Linked DNA regions of Homo sapiens: region 2 is linked to region 1. The links are contacts of gene promoters, found by promoter capture Hi-C in human tissues and cell types (Jung and others, 2019). All regions are on one chromosome and are shown on one strand. The core of a region is centred on a gene start or on the middle of the fragment in contact, and the rest is flanking DNA. Distances in the headings are between cores, read along the strand shown.

What was found. The method cuts DNA at HindIII sites, captures the fragments that hold promoters and counts their contacts. A contact is called where the count stands out against the background at its distance.
Region 2: a contact is called between a fragment that was not itself captured here and the fragment with the promoter of SEC13 in region 1, in 2 of the 25 tissues and cell types used here (H1 embryonic stem cells and IMR-90 fibroblasts).

The regions. Positions count from the first base shown.
Region 1 is chr3:10,319,627-10,322,740 of GRCh38, forward strand. It overlaps SEC13 (SEC13 homolog, nuclear pore and COPII component), which reads right to left and starts at 1,486. Exons shown (of 9, transcript NM_183352.3): 1 at 1,424-1,486. The coding sequence starts at 1,426. RefSeq lists enhancers at 1,152-1,451, 1,199-1,794 and a silencer at 1,642-1,721. The HindIII fragment of the contact is 24,307 bases long and covers 1-3,114 here.
Region 2 is chr3:10,605,394-10,608,531 of GRCh38, forward strand. It overlaps a transcript of ATP2B2 not described here. Among named protein-coding and RNA genes, the nearest start is that of ATP2B2-IT2, 20 kb to the right of the region's middle. The HindIII fragment of the contact is 7,268 bases long and covers 1-3,138 here.

The sequences.
Region 1 (3,114 bases), core at 236-2,735:
GGTTAAGTAGGTTCACGAAGAAAGTTTACTGAGAGGTAGTTTCAACCAGGTTACCAAAGGACCTTAGAAATAATCAGCATTTAATTCTAACCACTCTCACCCACCAGTCAGGGTTGATGAACCACACTTCTGAATGAGAGAGAGAGAGAGAGAGAGAGAGAGAGAGAGAAGGCGGGGGGGGGGGGGGGGGAGGAAAGAGGGAGGGGGAGAGAAAAGGACGGAAGGAAGGAGGAAGGGCGGGAGAGAAAGGGAGAGGGAGAGGAAGGGGGGAGGAAGAGGGAGCGGGGAGAGAGAGAGAGAAGAGAGGGAGGGGGAGAGAGAGAAAGGGAGAGGGAGAGGAAGGGGGGAGGGAGAGGGAGTGGGGAGAGAGGGAGGGTGGGGAGAGAGAGAGAGAGAGAGAGAACTTCTTAGAGTACTTCTTCCCAGGGACCTGGTATTATCTGGTCCCTGTTAACACCTGCACTCAAAATAATTCACCTCTTTGAGATCAGATAATGAGTTAAAAATTCATTTAGGATGAGCTGAATGTCAGAGCATAAAAGCCTCAACTCTAACCTGCAGTGGAAGAGCCAGAGGTGAGTGATTTACACCTAACCCTCTGCAGAACAAGAACACAGTGTTCTGATTTCTAGGTTCCTGCAGGTTCCCTCAAACCTGCTGCTGAGACACACCCATGTTTCTAAAAGAATGCATGTACTAGATATTCCAGGCTCAGCCCAGATACTTCCATTCTTTAGTTCTCCTTCAGTCATTCATTCACTCAAGGAGTAAGTGTGGAGTGAATGTACACTGCAGATGCCACAGAGACTTAAAAAACCCTGAGCCCCTGCCTTCGGAGGGTCGTTCAGGCCATCTTTACGTTTCCCGAGGTGCCCATCCTACCTGGGGGCCCTACCCCGAGCAACAGTTCAATCATCTCTGCTGGGAGCTGCAGTAGGCGGCAGAAAGGAATGGTTAGGAGGGTTCAAATCTCGGCTCTACTACCACTTAAGCAGCTGTGCAAGAGGCTCCACGTCTCCGAACCTCAAGTGTCCTCATCTGTAAAGTGTTGAGAAGAATAGCACCTTCTTCACAAGGCTGTTAGCAGGCGGAGATTACGAACAATGCTGAGGGCTCGGTATACAGTAGCTCCTCTGCTGTTCCTCGTTTTGTTTTCAATTGTTGACCGAAAAGAAGGAAGGGAGACTGGCAGGAGACGCAGGAGCGGCGCGCCCCGCAAAGTCAGGGAGGTTCCTCGGCCTCACCTCTGGACTCCCCTCGGAATGGTCCGCAAGGACGGGGCCAGAGCCCCCCAAATCTCTAAGCGGTGGAGGGGAGCTGAACGGCTCCAGCTTGGGATTTGGGACTCAGGACGGCCGAGGAACCCGTGAAGGCCGCGACCGTGGCCTTCACCCTGCTAGGCCTCCTCAGTACCAACACTCACCATGATTGCGGCGGTGGCTGCTCCAGGTCTCGGACGTGGCAGCTCCCGGCGGCGCCTCGGAACAGCTCACTTCCGGCGCCGGGCCCGACGGGCCGTGGCGTAGGAGCCTCCGGGCAGCAACGCGCTCGGCTCGCACAGCAGTTCCGCGCCTTCCAGAGGGCGCGCCCCGCCCTCCCGTGGCCCAGCCCCTATCCTCCAGTGACGTGCGAGACCAGAGGGCTGGGGCTCTGGTTGCCGCAGTTACCCTGACCCGGAGGGCTTTGGAATCTGAAGCTCTGGTGGGTCTACTCTCCCGACCAAGTCTGCCCTTTTCCTGAGATCCATAAATGAAAGAAAGGATTAATATAACTATCGGCCGGGCGCGGTGGCTCATGCCTGTAATCCCAGAACTTTGGGAGGCTGAGCTGGGGGGTGGATCACCTGAGGTCAGGAGTTCGAGACCAGCCTGGCCAACATGGTGAAACCCCGTCTCTACCAAAAATACAAAAATTAGCCGGGCATAGTGGCGCGCGCCTGTAGTCCCAGCTACAGGCTGAGGCAGGAGAATCGCTGGAACCCGGGAGGTGGAGGTTACAGTGAGCCGTGACTGCACCATTGCACTCCAGCCTGGGCAACAGAGAGACACTCTTGTAAAAAAGAAAAAAATCTATCTATCTATCTATCTATCTATCTATCTATCTATCTATCTATCTATCATCTATCTATCTGCAGCTTCACCCGCCTCACTACGGCTCTGGGTGCGACTGGTCTTATGATGAATGTTGTAGGATGAGTGACATCTTAGGAGTAAGTAGACTGTCCTAGTGCTTCCTTGTTGTAGTCTCCCTCTCAGTACCCAAGGACTGGGACCAGGGCAGAGGAGGCCAGGGAATGCCCCTCGCCAGAGGCTGGGACCTCTGGCCCTGCCATCCCTAACCCCTATATAGGACTGCCCCTTCCAAACCGATCCCCTGGGGTCCTGAGTAAGTCCCATCAAGGAGACCCCCCTAGGCAATGAAGGATCTCAGCCAGGCTCCTGCAGCTAGAGCCCCAGACCTAATCCTCAGGGTCCCCAACCCCAGGTCTCTGGCTTCACAAGGTAGGGCAGCTGAAGGCTCCCCACAAGCGCAGTGAGAATGCCACACTGGAGGACAGAGCCTGGGCTCCCCGCCTCAGCCACATATGGTCTAGCCCTGGGCCCCTTGTGACATTAAGGAGGCAGATGAGCTGGGGGAGGCCTTGGCTCCCCTTGGGCAAGTCACAGTCCTTCAGTTTCCTCTGCTGAAACTGGGAGTAAGGACCCTAGCTGGAGATGGTCACTGCTTGAAGGAAGATGTTAAGGCTCAGAGAATGTGATAGACCCAAACTGTCAAGGAGCTTTGGAGGGGAGGCCAGGGGAGTAGGGTGTTAGAATTAAGGGCCAGGCCTCTGGGCAACTCTTCTACCCCACTGCAGCTTTCAAGATTTTTTATTGCCCTCTAGTGGAGAAATTGTTGCAGGGGTGTGAGGGGGTGGTGGTTAGGTTAGAGCAGGGAACAAAGGCAGGTTTCAGGGGATCTCTTGGATCTCCTGTTGTTTTTTTTGTTTTTTTTTTTTTGGAGATGGACTCTAGCTCTGTTGCCCAGGCTGGAGTCCAGTGGTATGATCTTGGCTCACTGCAACCTCTACCTCCCGGGTTCAAGCAATTCTCCTGCCTCAGCCTCCTGAGTAGC
Region 2 (3,138 bases), core at 623-3,122, 290 kb after region 1:
CTGTTCACCATCCCTGGGCAATAGCCTCCTTGCCTCTGTTAGGCTCAAAGTCTTTCTTTTTCCCTGCCTGACAAGTCATGGACCAGAGAGGGCAGGCTGGGGGGAAACTGGGGAACAGTTCTGGGAACCAGAGCTGGGGCTCCTTAGCTTGTCAGGAAATAAAGACCTAAGAACAGTTTGTGAGGCTGGAGCTGGAGGATTGCTTGAGGCCAGCATTTCGAGACTAGCCTGGCCAACACACTGGGACCCTATCTTTACAGTTTTTTTTTTTTTGAGACAGAGTCTCACTCTGCCACCCAGGTGGGAGTGCAGTGGTGCAATATCGGCTCACTGCAACCTCCGCCTCCCGGGTTCAAGTGATTCTCCTGCCTCAGCCTCCTGAGTAGCTGGGACTACAGGCATGCATCACCATGCCTAGCTAATTTTTGTATTTTTAGTAGAGATGAGGTTTCGCCATGTTGGCCAGGCTGGTCTTGAACTCCTGACCTCAAGTGATCTGCCTGCCTCAGCCTCCCAAAGTGCTGTGATTACAGGCGTGAGCCACCATGCCCAGCCCTCTACATTTTTTTTTAAAATCAGTTGGCTGTGGTGGTATGCACCTGTGGTCTCAGCTACTCTGGAGGCTGAGATGGGAGGTTTGCTTGAGTCCAGAAGTTCAAGGCTGCAGCGAGCTACGATTGTACCACCGCACTCCAGCCTGGGTGCAGAGCAAGACTTTAATCTCTAAAAACAAAAACAAAAACAAAAAAACAACCTAAGGACTCGGGTTGCTGTTTCCAGTGGAGGAGTTCAGTGTTCAATCTGGGCTCTGCCGCTTGTGATCTGCATGAGACCCCCGGTGAGATAACGCAGCTCTCTGAGCCTCAGTTTTCTCATCTATAAAATGAGGGTAGTACTGTACCCATATACTCCACGGCCAGAGTGTATGTGAGAGGAGGCAATGCATGTCAAGAGCCTGGCTTGTGTTTAATAGATGGTGGCAATGACTCTTAGCAGAGTCCTTGGGCAAAGCTGTAGTCCGCACCATCTAACCCCAAGATCTCAGCCCCTGACCAGGGGGGTGGAGTTAAAAGCCAGGATTAAGGTCCTTTGCTAGTCTTTGGTGAAGTAGGGAGTGCAAGACTTCCAATCCTCCTGGCTTGTATATTGGGTTGGAGGTCCAGTTCCCTTACTTAGTTAACTCTGGAAGTCAGTCTGAATCCTGTGGGTGGACGTGTGTGCAGCGGAGGTACACATGTGCATGCAGGGGAGTTTTGGAGATGTGTATCTGTGTGTCTGTGCCAGGTAAATGTGTCTACTTTTACAACGGTTTGGAGCACTAATGTGTGTGTCTGTGTGTATGTGTGTTTTACACACCTGCTTATGTATAAGACCTTTCCCCATACTCCTATCCATTCCTCCCTAAGTCTCCCTCAGTCACTGCTGTATCCCCAGGGCCTGGCACATAGTAGGTGCACAGTAAACGTAAGTGTAATGACGGAGTCTAAACACACACACACACACACACACACACACACACAGAGAGAGAGAGAGAGAGAGAGAGAGGGAGAGGGAGAGGGGGAGGGGGGGAGAGAGAGAGAGAGAGAAAGAAAGAGAGAGAGAGAGACAGAGAGAGAGAGAGAGAGACTGTTCCCATCAACCTTTGTCTTAAAAACATTTAATTTGGCAACTCAGGTATGAATCTCATACTTTTTAAAAATGTTCTATCTTTTCCAACTTCACACAGAGACAAGATGTGGCACTGGCTTGGCGGTCGGCAGGAAGCTGGTTGACCACGTACTGGCTGTGTGACACTGGCCAGTTGCTTCTCCTCTCTGATCCACTTGTGTGAGGGTTGAATAAGCCCAGGCAGTGGAAAGCCCAGAACAGAGCCTGAAACAGTGGAGGAAGCTGCAAAGGAAGTTGTTTAGTTGCAGTACTTCCAACCAGGAATCCCCCACAAAGCTGGGCACTCCCAGACCTCCAGCCCTGGACCTTAGAAACCATTGCTCCCTGACATTTCCATTTCTCCTAAGCCAAGGTCTTTTCCAAAGCCAGGCAGAGTCCCTGGACTCCCTGGAGAGGGGTCAGTGGTGAGCCAAGGCAGTGCCCCATTAGCCATCCCCCAGGTATCCCTGACCCCTGCACACCTGGCACCCTGGCCAGGACACAGAACCTTTCTAAATGATCCATTTCTAGGGTAGGCTCTGCACAACCAACCTGCTCAGTGGCATTGCCATTCAATACCTGAAAAATCTATCCACACTAGGGACATGGCATCCACTTTCCACACTTGCACTTAGATGGAAAGGGGGTGCAACCCCAAGCAGCGAGGGCCAAGCTAAGCCTGCTGTAGGTGCAGGGTGAGATCTTTCTGTTTGAGTGTGGCAGCTATCACAAGTTCAGTGACCACATGTAGATTTGGAGGGTGTGTGGATGATAAATCTGGCATTGACTCAGCATCACCAGGGTTTACCATGAAGCTTGCTAGGGCAGGGGTCTAGGGGGGTGATACTATATCGAAGTCAGGTCCCAGTGTGACCAGATTTGACCTTATGACCTCCCTCCCTCTCTCTTCCACCTGCTCCTTCTCCCCTTGTCCCCTCTCTCATCAAGAGGCAGCATCACCCACCCAGGCCTCACTGTCCACTTTGAAATCATCCCTGACACTTCCTTTTCCTTCACGATTGACCCTTGTCACTCAAACTCGGAAAAGAGCAGAGCTGTCCCCTGCTGTCTACCTCCTGACTCCACTGCCTTGGTCTAAGCACTGGCCTCTAGGATTTTTAAGTCATAGCTTTCTTCTCTGGAAGGTCCCTGTCTCCCTCCTCACTCCATCCACACTGTAGTTTTCTAAGATGCAAAGCTGACCACATCAAGCCCCCATTATAAAGTCTGCAGTGCCACTGGGCATGGTGGCTTGTGCCTGTAGTCCCAGCTACTGGGGAGGCTGAGGTGGGAGGATCACTTGAGCCCAGGAGTTTGAAGCTGCAGTGAGCAATGATTGTGCCACTGCACTCCAGCCTGGGCCACATAGTGAGACCTTACCTCTTAACAAAAAAATTAAAATCTTCAGTGTCTCTCACCTGTCTGTAAGACCAAGTCCTGACTCCCTCAACTGGCCTTGGAGGCCTTTGGTGATGAGGCCCTGTCAGTTTC